3 separate regions of the Homo sapiens genome follow, and all the other regions are linked to region 1. The links are contacts of gene promoters, found by promoter capture Hi-C in human tissues and cell types (Jung and others, 2019). All regions are on one chromosome and are shown on one strand. Each heading gives the region's core, a stretch centred on a gene start or on the middle of the fragment in contact. The rest is flanking DNA. Distances are from core to core; before and after follow the strand shown.

Evidence for each region. Contacts are between HindIII fragments. The study calls those that stand out against the background at their distance.
Region 2: a fragment that was not itself captured here is called in contact with the fragment with the promoter of CARD14 in region 1 in 5 of the 25 tissues and cell types used here (bladder, lymphoblastoid cells, mesendoderm cells and 2 more).
Region 3: a contact is called between a fragment that was not itself captured here and the fragment with the promoter of CARD14 in region 1, in 1 of the 25 tissues and cell types used here (spleen).

The regions. Positions count from the first base shown.
Region 1 is chr17:80,167,138-80,171,864 of GRCh38, reverse strand. CARD14 (caspase recruitment domain family member 14) reads right to left here and starts at 1,835. Exons shown (of 24, transcript NM_001366385.1): 1 at 1,809-1,835. The HindIII fragment of the contact is 21,960 bases long and covers 1-4,053 here.
Region 2 is chr17:80,227,913-80,232,639 of GRCh38, reverse strand. SLC26A11 (solute carrier family 26 member 11) reads right to left here. Exons shown (of 18, transcript NM_001166347.2): 7 at 4,680-4,727. Among named protein-coding and RNA genes, the nearest start is that of SLC26A11, 9.8 kb to the right of the region's middle. The HindIII fragment of the contact is 6,759 bases long and covers 1-4,727 here.
Region 3 is chr17:80,210,429-80,213,612 of GRCh38, reverse strand. It overlaps SGSH (N-sulfoglucosamine sulfohydrolase), which reads left to right. Exons shown (of 8, transcript NM_000199.5): 7 at 1,339-1,542; 8 at 2,602-3,184. The coding sequence ends at 3,161. Among named protein-coding and RNA genes, the nearest start is that of SGSH, 8.3 kb to the left of the region's middle. The HindIII fragment of the contact is 4,264 bases long and covers 1-3,184 here.

The DNA.
Region 1 (4,727 bases), core at 586-3,085:
TCACAAGACTCCTGAGGAGGGTCTGAGGGTGCTGACTGTGCCCTCCCATCAGACTGAACTCAGAAAGCCAGGGCAGCTCAAGCCAAAGCTGCCTCACCAGCAGCTGAAGACAGGGGCTCTGCAGAACTCTCCAGACCCCAGCCAACTGCCCCAGCCAGCTGCCCCTCAGGCTTCTGGAGCCCCCAGAGCCACACTGAACTTCAAGCATCAGTGGGTGGAGCTAAATAGAAGTCACTAGTCCCTTCTGCAGTTGCCATGAAGCAACTTACAGTAGTCTCCAATGGCAGTTAACAATTGCAGGAGTTTCTTTGTAACTTGTCCCAGTGTAAATAAGGGTTAGTCCTAACAGTAAAACAAAACAAAACAAAACAAAAAACCTTAGGGCTGGGCACAGTGGCTCAGGCCTGTAATCCCAGCACTTTGGAGGCCAAGGCAGGAGGATTGCTTGAGCTCAAGAGTTCAAGGCTGCAGTGAGCTATGATTGTGCCACTGCCCTCCAGCCTGGGTGACAGAGCAAGACCCTGGCTCAAAAAAAGGAAAAGAAAGAAAGAGAGAGAGAGAGAAAGAAAGAAAGAAAAGAAGAAAAGAAAGAGAGAGGAAGGAAGGGAAGGAGAGAGAGAAGGAAGGAAGGAAGGAAGGAAGGAAGGAAGGAAGGAAGGGAGGGAGGGAGGGAGGGAGGGAGGGAGGGAGGAAGGGGAGGGGAAGGGGAAGGTGAATGGGAAGGCGCCAGGAGCCGTGGCTCACGCCCGTAATCCCAGCACTTTGGGAGACCAAGATGGGCGGATTACCTGAAGTCAGGAGTTTGAGACCAGCCTAGCCAACGTGACAAAACCCTGTCTCTACTAAAAATAAAAAAATTAACCAGGTGTGGTGGCGTGCACCTATAGTCCCAGCTACTTGGGAGACTGAGGCAGGAGAATCACCTGAACCCAGGAGGCAGAAATTGCAGTGAGCCGAGATTGTGCCACTGCAACTCTAGCCTGGGCGACAGAGGGAGACTTCTGAAAAAGGAGAGAAGAGGGGAGGGGAGGAGAGGGGAGAGGAGGGGAGGGGAGAGGAGGGGAGGGGACGGGAGGGGAGGGGACGGGAGGGGAGGGGAGGGCCCAGAGATCTCTAATTCCAAACTCTGAATCTAACTGTACAGCAATTCTAGAAGAGCCTAAGATCATAAAATCCTGAGCATCTAAGATGTGGGTTCTCCTTATTTGACCCCTCCCAGGTCAACATCCTTCTCCTAACCCAAGTGTCAGTCTCTTCCCTTGCCAGTGAAGTAGGGAAGAAGGCATGTACACATACACACACGCACACGCACACACACACATGTACATACCCCATGGGGGGCAGAGGGTCACAAGCCCAGGAGGAGGGGGCACAGCTCACCTCGGCCCCCCAGTGCCATGACAGGCTGGCTGTGCCTCTGCTACCAACAGCAGCCAGCTGGTCTTGCTCACTTTGTTCTGAACTTAGACACCTTCCTTCTGCTGTCTTTCATCCCACGGCAATAGCGAAGAGATGAGAGTATAAAACAGAGATCCCTTTCATCTAGCATGACCCATGCTGTTTTAAGGCAGAACTCAGCATTCAGAGAATGTTCCAGTGATTGACCCAGCAACACAGACAAGCCGTTTTCTGTTCTCTAGTCCACATACAAGGCAGCTCCTCCACTCCTGATGAGGAAGATGCCGGCCCCTCCCACTCCCCTGGGACCACTCTCGGGCCCCATCAGACCTGTGTCGGCTGAGCCCCTCCGTAGGCTGAGCCCTCCGTAGGCTGACCTGCTCTTCGCCGGATGGACTGCGCGCACTTACCTTCCCCCTCCCAGGGAAGCGAGGACTGAATGTGGCCCAATCTCTGGCTGAACTGAACGGCAGTGGACAAGCAGGTTTGACAGGCACATCCCACAGGAGCAGTGCCTTATATGGGGCTTCTATGAGCCATCGAAGCACCAGTGCAGTCCCACAGCTAGACATTGCCGTAAGAACCACAGGGATGGCTGAGAACAGTCCGTGCATCTGGTCGACCCACAGAAGATGGTGATTGAGGGTGATTGAGGGGAAGGCTTCAGGCTTGGGGGCTGGGAATCCTCTCTCCTTTGTGAACGGTCACCCAGTTCATCATCATTTCTACCCTTGGGAAAATCCTACGAAGATCAGGATAAATTCTAGGGCCTTTCTTGGTTCTCATGATCCATTATTGGAAGTATCTGAATAATTCCAATAGATCCATCTCAAGTTAACATTTCATAACTATTGTTTAGATTTAGATGAAAGTCTTGGTCCTCCACCTTGAGATATGTCTAGAATCCGATCCATTCTCACCACCTGCATTGTGGTGTCCTGATCATGGCCCACCGGGACCTCTGTAATGGCTCCTAACTTCTTCCCACGCCCCCATCACCAGCGCTCAACACAGCAGACAGAGAAGTCCTGCTAGGGCATGAGTCAGCTCCTGTCATTCCCTTCGGTGTACAGGTCCTGGAGTCCTCAGCGTGACCATGAGGCTCTGCTTATCAGGTCCTTGCTGACCTTATCTCTCTTTTACCTGCTCCAGACACACAGCCCAACAGTCTTGACAGTCCAGGCACACTTCTGCCCCAGGGCCTTTGCACCTGCTGTTCCCACTGCCTGGAACACTCTTTCCCATCCCTCCTTCCAGACTCTACTCAAATGCTACTTCCCAGATCATCCTACTTAAGTCCGTAGACCTCCCATCCTGGCCTTCACTCCCCTTCCCTGTTCCATCTTCTCTGTGGGAATACTGCCTTGACCTAACGTGTATTCTAGTTACGTGGCTTCCTGCCAGCCTCCCCACTCCACAGTAACCTACTGAGGACAATAATTCTTGTCTTTCTTGTTCCCTGCTGTGTCCCCACCCCTAGGGCTGTGATATTCCACAAATATTGGTTGAGCGAATGAATAAACATTGGTTAGGGGCTTGGTTCCCAATGATGCAGACACTGAAAGAAGGGAAATTCACAGGTCCATGGCCTGAGAACCTTCAGGATTATCCTGCGGACAATCAAAGATCGGCCTTCAAGGTCATGTAGCTCATGGTGGCTGAGCAGTAGCTCCAACCCAAATCTCCTGGTGATGAGCCGGCTGAAGGCACAGCCAGTTGGGCAGAGCAAGTGAGAACGCAGGCCGAGGCCAGGTGCAGACATGAACTCTCCAACCAGGGTTACAGCCCCACTGGGTGTCAGCTTCCCCTCAGGCAGTTCATTTAAGCCCCTAAGGCTCAGCTCTCTTAGTTTCCTCCAGCAGACCTCATGATAAGCCCTCCCCCACAGTGGGGAAGCTTGCCAGCTCATCACACTGTGCCAGCCACACAGAGAATTCTAGTTACAGAAAACGCAAAGAAATGCCGCCATTCCCAGTAAAAGAGGGGGGCAGAAGAATGCACTGGAGATGGGAGGAGCCTCCCTAAGAACAGAAATAGCCATAGAAATAGTCAAGGTGCAGCCATAGAAAGGAATGAAGGGCCTTTGCAGAGACATGGATGAAGCTGGAAGCCATCATTCTCAGCAAACTAACATGGGAACAGAAACCCAAACACTGCATGTTCTCACTCATAAGTGGGAGCTGAACAATGAGAACACATGGACACAGGGAGGGGAACAACACACACTGGGGCCTATGGTAGGGGGAGTGGAGGGAGAGCATCAGGACAAATAGCTAATGCACGTGGGGCTTAAAACCTAGGTGATGGGTTGACAGGTGTAGCAAACCACCATGGCACATGTCTACTTATGTAACAAACCTGCACATTCTGCACATGTATCCCGGAACCTAAAATAAAATAAAATAAAAAGAAACAGTCAAGGAAGCCACAACCCTGAAGGACCCTGTGTTTTCTGAGGTCAAAAACCATATCTTAGGCTAGGTGCAGTGGCTCATGCCTGTAACCCCAGTGCATTGAGAGGCTGAGGAGGGAGGATTGCTTGAGGCCAAGAGTTCGAGACCAGCCTGGGCAACACAGGAAGACCCTGTCTCTACAAAAAATAATTTTAAAAAAAAGCCGGGTATGGTGCAACATGCCTGTGGTCCCAGCTACTCCGGAGGCTGAGGTGGGAGGATCGCTTCAGCCCAGGAGGTAGACGCTGCAGTGAGCCGTGGTTGCACCACTGCACTCCAGCCTGGGCAACAGAAGGAGACCCTGTCTCAAACAAAACAAAACAAAACGTATCTTAATCACTATGGCATCTTCAGGAGGGCCCCACTGGCAGGTCATCTATATCACACAGAATTGCAGCTGCATACACATATCCAGAGCCAATAAAGCAGCACCTCTAGTAATCTGGCCAGGTTAGGTTAGGGTATCCCTGGAAAAACTCAGAAGGGGGACCTGGGGGACAGGGGCCAGCAGGCACCAGGACAGCACCACCCAGGGGCTCTGTGCCCCGTGGCAGTGATCAGTGAAGAAACGGACATGTGCCAGACTTGGGCCAGCTGAAGAGCTCCTCTGGGCACTTTTTTTTTTTTTTTGAGACAAGTCTCACTCTGTCACCCAGGCTGGAGTGCAGTGGCTTGACCTCAGCTCACTGCAGCCTCCACCTCCCAGGTTCAAGCGACTCTCCTGCCTCAGCCTCCCGTGTAGCTGGGATTACAGCTATGTGCCACCATGCCCAGCTAATTTTTGTATTTTTAGTAGAGACGGGGTTTCACCATGGTGGCCAGGCTGGTCTCAAACTCCTGATCCCAAGTGATCTGCCCACCTTGGACTCCCAAAGT
Region 2 (4,727 bases), core at 1,445-3,944, 60 kb before region 1:
GAGATTAAAAACAAATCCCATCTATATGCTGCCCATAAAACATACCATTAAACACAAGAACACAAATCAATTAAATACGTTAAAAGTAAAAAGATAGGAGGCTGGGTGTGGTGTCCCAGCACTTTGGGAGGCCAAGGCAGGTGGATCACTTGAGGCCAAGAATTTGAGACCAGGCTGGCCAACATGGTGAAACCTCATTGCTACTAAAAACACAAAAATTAGCTGGGCTTGGTGGTGCAAGCCTGTAATTCCAGCTACTTGGGAGGCTGAGGCACAACAATTGCTTGAACCTGGGAGGTGGAGGTTGCAGTGAGCCAAGATCACGCCATTGCACTCCAGCCTGGGCAACAGAGAGAGATTCTGTCTCAAAAAAAAAAAAGTAAAAAGATGGGAAAAGATATGCTAACACTAATGAAAGCTGGAGTAGCTCTCTTAGTATCAAAGTAGATTTCAGGGAAGAGAATATTGCCCAGAAAAAAAAGTATCATTCCAAGAGAAAATTATAATTCTATATGTTTTTATACTAAAAAACAGAGCTTCAAAATATATGAAACAATAACTGGTAAGTAAGAAAGGAAAATAGACAAAGTCATGGTTATAGCTGAAGTTATTTCAACATTCTTCTTTTAATAATCAACAGAACAAGTAGAAAGAAAATCAGCAAGAATATAGTAGCCTGAGATAACCAACCAGACCTAACTGACATTTACAGAACATTCCACCCAATAATGGCAGAAAACATGTTCTCAAGCACACACAGAATATTCACTAAGATAGACCATATTCAGGGCCATAATACAACTCTCAATAAAGGAAAACAGATTTAAATCACTAAGTACGTTTTCTTATCACAATGGAACTAAATTAGAAATCAATGGCAAAGTACTAATTGGGAAACCCCCAACTATTTGGAAACTAAATAACTCCCATGGTTCACAGAAGAAATCATATAATCCACTTCTAAATAATCCACAGGTCAAAGGAGAAGTCAAAATGGAAATCACAAAGTATTTAGAACCGAATAAAAATTAAAGAACAGCATATATATAAAAACTGTGGGATGCAGCTAAAGTAATGCTAGGAGTGAAATTTACAGCATTTAAACAACCATATTAGAAAAGAAGAAAGGTCTCAAATCAAAGATCCAGGCTTCCACCTTAAGAATCTGAAAAAAAAGGCCGGGCACAGTGGCTCACGCCTGTAATCCCAGCACTTTGGGAGGCTGAGGCGGGTGGATCACCTGAGTTCAGGAGTTCGAGACCAGCCTGGCCAACATGGTGAAACCCCGTCTCCACTAAAAATACAAAAAATTAGCCAGGCATGGTGGCATACGCCTGTAATCCCAGCTACTTGGGAGGCTGAGGCAGGAGAATCACTTGAACCCGGGAGGCGGAGGTTGCAGTGAGCTGAGATCACACCATTGCACTCCAACCTGGGGGACAAGAGCGAAACTCCGTCTCAAAAAAAAAAAATTTTTTTTGAAAAAAAAAAAAAAAAAGGATAAAGTTAACTGAAAATAAATAGAAGAAAGGAAATAATAAAGGCCCAAGCAGAAATCAATGAACTAGAAAACCAAAGCAAAAGGGAGATCAATGAAACCAAAGGTGGTTCTTTGAGAGGATCATAACATTGACACACTTCTAGACAGACCATTCAGAAAAAAAGACAGACGACTCGGGTGAAGTCCTTGTTCTGCCTCTTCCCAGTCGTGTGGCCTTGAGAAGTTCTGTTTTATTTTTCATCTTTCATAGGCTCACTTTCCTCACTGACAAAATGGAAAAAATAATAAACTCATTCTCAAAGCTGTTATAAGAATCAAAAGCTTTTTAAGTAGTTTCCTAAGACAATGCTACACACACTGGGGAGAAAGGAGTCAGCAGCCCTACACTGTAAATGTTTCTGAAGTTTCTGTACATTACGATGTCTAGACATCTTAAAAGACCTTTCTGGCTGCGGAGACACTGCCTTCAGGGTTAGGCAAGTACTAGAGAAAAAAGCAGCCCCAAGTGTGTCTCTGATATGCCAGCTAACCCCTCTGGAGCCATCCTTCCTCCACCAGCCTGGCCTGCACCCCAGGAGGCAAGATTTTTCTGCCTTAAGCCTGAAACCCACCAAAATTCCTCCAACTGCAAGTCCTAAGCTGGTCGCCTTTCTTCACCTTGCCTTTATCAAGAAAATCTCGATAAAGGCTGTGGCCTAAACCACAGCTTTGGCTTCTCCTCCTGGCCACCCTGGTGTCCTCTGACATGGCCCTACGTGGCATGCTGTGCCTCCTGTCTCTAGGACCTGTGAGTATAATAAACTGGTTTTCTTCCTGAGCCTTTCGCTGTCTCCCCTTGTGGCCACACCTGCCTGATCATCTCATAAAGTCATACAAAACAAGTCTCTGAAAAACATGGGGTCTCTAAGCATTTCCCAAACTTTGACTTTTTTTTTTTTTTTTTTTGAGAAGGAGTCTCGCTCTGTTGCCAGGCTGGAGTGCAGTGGTGCAGTCTTGGCTCACTATAACCTCCGCCTCCCGGGTTCAAGTGATTCTCCTGCCTCAGCCTCCCAAGTAGCTGGGATCACAGGCACACACCACCACACCCAGCTAATTTTTGTATTTTTAGTAGAGACGGGGTTTGGCCAAGCTGGTTTCAAACTCCTGACCTCAGGTGATCTGCCTCCCTCGGCCTCCCAAAGTGCTGGGATTACAGGCGTGAGCCACCATGCCCGGCTTCCAAACTTTGACTTCTAAGCTGACCCCATGAATCCCCTGGGCGTGCCCTGAAGAATACAGATCCTGATTCGGAGATCTGGGGTGGGGCCTGAGATCCTGCCTTTCCAGTAAGCTCCCAGGAGATGCCCAGTGCCCAGGCTGCTGGTCCCAGGCCACACTCTGAGTCTCAAGGTTTAAGATAACAAGGCATAGGCCAGGCGCAGTGGCTCACGCCTATAATCTCAGCACTTTGGGAGGCTGAGGCGGGCGGATCACTTGAGGTCAGGAGTTCGAGACCAGCCTGGCCAACATGGTGAAACCCCATCTCTACTCAAAATACAAAAATTAGCCAGGTGTGGTGGTGCACGCCTGTAATCCCAGCTACTCGCGAGGCTGAGGCGGGATAATTGCTTGAAACCAGGAGGCAGGTTGCAGTGAGCCAAGATCACGCCAGTGCACTCCAGCCTGGGCAACAGAGTGAGACACCGTCTCCAAAAAAAACCAAAAAACAAAAGATAACAAAGATAACAAAGCATTTTCACTATTTCACGGACAACTGAACTAAAGCTCAGGAACTTTGGAAGCTACTTTGCAAGTCTAAACCCAGGCCAGGCTGGGACTGGAAGCTGGACATCTCCACTCTAAACCCAGCATCCTCTGCACCCCACCAGACTCTCAGTGTTCACCACGGCCTCAAGTCTGCTGAACAGGATCCAGGGAGAGACCACAGAGAACAGACCAGCCTGGGCAGGCAGAAGTGACTCAAGAGCTAAATCCAGCCACCCTCTCTCTTCTGTGGCTGTTGGATTTTGCAGCCCCCAAACAGCAAGACCAAGCTCGGGTTATTCTGAGCTTAATCTGTCCCCTCGGCTCTGAGAAGGTTTGGAGTCACCTATGCTTCCTGACTTTCCTGGGTGTGCCTTCTTCTCTGGGCATCCCTGCCCGGTGCTCAGCCAGGGGACCCATGCCCATCCCGGATGCACTGAGAAGAGGCTTCCACCTCCCCCAGGGTGGTCCTTCACCTGCTGACAGCCCTGCTCCTCCACGACGCAGCCCTCACCACCCCTTTCTCAAAGGACCCCTGGTTGGTTGTGGCTCAGCCTGCAGCCTCCGCGCCTGAAGCTGAAGTTGTACCCCCATAAAGCTGCACAATTCAAACAGAGCCTGTTGGTCTCCCCGGAATTTGTTCTGTCTCCCCAGGACCTGCCAGTAGACTGTGTTTCTCCACCTCGGCACCGCCGACATTTTGGGCCGGATCACTGTTTGCTGTGGAAGGCTGTGCGCCGTCAGGGGCTTAGTGGCATTCCTGGCCCCTCCTCGCTAGTTGCCAGCAACTGCCTCGCCCGGTGGTATCCACCAAAAATGTTTCCCAACATTGCCACGTGTCACCAGGGGGCAAAACTGCTTCAGGTTGAGAACGGCCACAGCTGGCCATGCATCAGTTCTCAGCTCTGACCCTGCATCAGAACCCACCGAGTTTGGCTCAGAGTTTTAAATGTTCTAGAGTTTGGGTCGGGGCGGTGGCTCATGCCTGTAATCCCAGCACTTCGGGAGGCCGAGGCAGGCAGATCACTCGAGGTCAGGAGTTTGAGACCAGTATGGTCAACATGGTGAAACCCCGTCTCTACTATAAATACAAAAATCAGTCGAGCGTGGTGGCATGCGCCTGTAATCCCAGCTACTCAGGAGGCTGAGGCAGGAGAATCACATGAACCTGGGAGGCGGAGGTTGCAGTGAGCCAATATCACACCACTGTACTCCAGCCTGGGCGACAGAGCGAAACTCTGTCTCAAAAAATAATTAATTAATTAATTAAATAAAAAGTACATGTCCCAGAGTTTGGTGTGGTGTTTTAAATGTCCCAATGCTCAAGTGACACCCAGACCAATGACGTGAGAATCCCTAGGGTGGGACTAGGACTCCCCAAGTGACCCCAACCTGCAGCCAAGGTTGCATAAGATGTCAGCCAGAGGCCCCTCACCTGTCGTGGCAGCCCAGACCAGCCCACGGCTGAGCCGCACACCAGGGG
Region 3 (3,184 bases), core at 685-3,184, 42 kb before region 1:
CTGATGTGGACCTGCTCCTGGGCTGGGGCCTTCGGGTGCCCCAGAGGTTGCGTGAAGACTTCAGATATTTCCAGTCACAGGACCTGGGTCAGATTTGGGGGTTTGGAGTTCCTTAGCATATGCAGATGGAGATCTTGAGGTCTGTGAGTTTTTTGTGGTTGATGGCTTACAGCAACCAAAATTTGTACTCCCACAGTTCAGGAGGCCAGAAGTTTGAAATCAAGGTGTCAGCAGGGCCATGCTCCCCTGAAGGCCTAGGGGAGACCCTGCCTTTCCTCTTCCAACTTCTGGGGGCTGTGCCAGTGCTGGGCGTTCCTGGGCTGGCGGCAGAATCGCCCCCATCCCCGCTGAAGCCTTCACATGGCCTTTTTTCCTGTGTCTCCTCTTTGTGTCTCCACTTCTTCTTTTTTTTTTTTTTTGAGACTGAGTCTTGCTCTGTCACCCACGCGGGAGTGCAGTGGCGCAATCTCGGCTCACTACAACCACCACCTCCCAGGTTCGAGCGATTTTTCTGTCTCAGCCTCCAAAGTAGCTAGGACTGCAATCGCACCGCACGCCACCATGCCCAGCTAATTTTTATATTTTTAGTAGAGACGGGGTTTCACCACATTGGCCAGGCTGGTCTTGAACTCCTGACCTCGTGATCCGCCCACCTCAGCCTCCCAAAGTGCTGGGATTACAGGTGTGAGGCACCGCGCCCGGCCTGTTTCCGCTTCTTATAAGGACCCCGTCGGGTTTAGGGCCTACCTGAGCACTTCAGGATGATTTTGTCCCAAGATCTTTATTCGTGAAGTTCCCCTTTCCAAACAAGAACCCCTTCACAGATTCCAGCACACATGTCTTTTGGGGTCAGGGACGACAGGAGGTCAGGACCTTTGCCATTTCCCTATTGGTGCCATTAATTCTTAGTGAGCTGGGAAGGAGCGGGTATAGAGGAAGCCTTGTCCTCTGGCCCCAGCTGGGAAGGAGCGAGTATAGAGGAAGCCTCGTCCTCTGGCCCCTGCCCTATTTGCTCCATGGGACAGACACGAGATTCCGGAGAACTCAAAAGCCGGCGGGCACCAGGGAGCAGCTGCCTGGGGGTGACACAGAAGTGCCAAGGGATGGCTGGAGTCCCTGGAGGCCCATTCGAGGCCTGCTCAGGGAATGGGAGCTGGGCGGAGCTGGGCAAGAGCTGGGCAAGAGCCAGGGCCATTGGGAAGAACTACAGGGTGCTTTCGAATCCGGAAAGCGCTGGAGCCCAGCGGCCGGATGCAGCAGCAGGTGGGTCTACACACACCACCCGCTGCCTCCCTCCGTGTCTGCGGCTGAGCTCTGCTTCTCGGCCCCTCACCACAGGAGTTGGACTGGTGCTCCAGGAGCTGCGTGACGCCGGTGTCCTGAACGACACACTGGTGATCTTCACGTCCGACAACGGGATCCCCTTCCCCAGCGGCAGGACCAACCTGTACTGGCCGGGCACTGCTGAACCCTTACTGGTGTCATCCCCGGAGCACCCAAAACGCTGGGGCCAAGTCAGCGAGGCCTACGTGAGCCTCCTAGGTATGCCTTTGTCTGTCTCCGTCAGGAAAGGTGTGGGAGTGGATCTGGGACGGGGCCATGACCTGTCAGATGCTGCTCCACACCCATTACCTAATGTGGCTCTCATATCATCTGGGTGAGGAAGGGACTGTCACTCCCACTCTACAGAGGAAAAGAATGAGGCTCAGAGAGGTGAAGTAAGCTGCTCAGGATTGCACAGCTGGTAAGCACTAAGCTAGGATTCTCGCCTGGATCCTGCTGCTTTCAAAACCATTGCCTTTTCCCCGCCTACCTCCGATGAGCTTCAGAATCACCTGGGATGCTTGTTAATATCCAAATTGCAAATCCCAGGGTGTCCGATTCAGTAGATCTTGGCGGGCTCAAGAATTTGCATGTCTGACAAGTTCCCAGGTGATGCCGATACTGTGGGCCTGGGGACCCCTCTCTGAGCATCCGTGCACCCCATCCTGCCTTCCTGGGGGACCCAAAGCACCTCATGACCCTGCTCATTCCTAAAAAGACCTAGGACATCTAGTCCCATGTTATGGATGTGCAGACAAAGACACGGGTGCAGGAAGACTTTGTGAGGGGCTCGGGGTGACCCCTTCGGCACAGGGCAGAGGCTCGTGTGTCCTGCCCACTGCCTGGCAGAGCCTCCAGGTGGGGTGGGCCCGGGACAGCAGGAAACTCAGGTTCCCTTTCCCTCCGAGCTCGCGGCCCACATCTCTCTTGGGGCCCACATCTCTCTCTGGCCCCAAATGATGAGCCAGGAGCACTGTGGCCACACCCACCACAGGGGCTGGAGTACACGAGCTACCAAAAAGGAGACTTCTTTTCCAGTCCATGGGATTTTAGAAGGATCCTAAATGTCACCGAATCAGGGCCTCTTGTTATACCATTCAAGGCACTGAGGCCCAGAGAGATGACGTGGCGGTGAGAGGTGTCGGCTCGACAAGGCACCTCCCGCTGCTGATTGGATTGGAGAAGGGAGCCGCCCAGAGTGGCGTAGGTTCGGCCCTTCCGAGGGCAGCTCCTGTGTGCTGAGGGCTCTGCTGCTCTGAGATGCCGCGTCCCTTCCAGACCTCACGCCCACCATCTTGGATTGGTTCTCGATCCCGTACCCCAGCTACGCCATCTTTGGCTCGAAGACCATCCACCTCACTGGCCGGTCCCTCCTGCCGGCGCTGGAGGCCGAGCCCCTCTGGGCCACCGTCTTTGGCAGCCAGAGCCACCACGAGGTCACCATGTCCTACCCCATGCGCTCCGTGCAGCACCGGCACTTCCGCCTCGTGCACAACCTCAACTTCAAGATGCCCTTTCCCATCGACCAGGACTTCTACGTCTCACCCACCTTCCAGGACCTCCTGAACCGCACCACAGCTGGTCAGCCCACGGGCTGGTACAAGGACCTCCGTCATTACTACTACCGGGCGCGCTGGGAGCTCTACGACCGGAGCCGGGACCCCCACGAGACCCAGAACCTGGCCACCGACCCGCGCTTTGCTCAGCTTCTGGAGATGCTTCGGGACCAGCTGGCCAAGTGGCAGTGGGAGACCCACGACCCCTGGGTGTGCGCCCCCGACGGCGTCCTGGAGGAGAAGCTCTCTCCCCAGTGCCAGCCCCTCCACAATGAGCTGTGACCATCCCAGGAGGCCTGTGCACA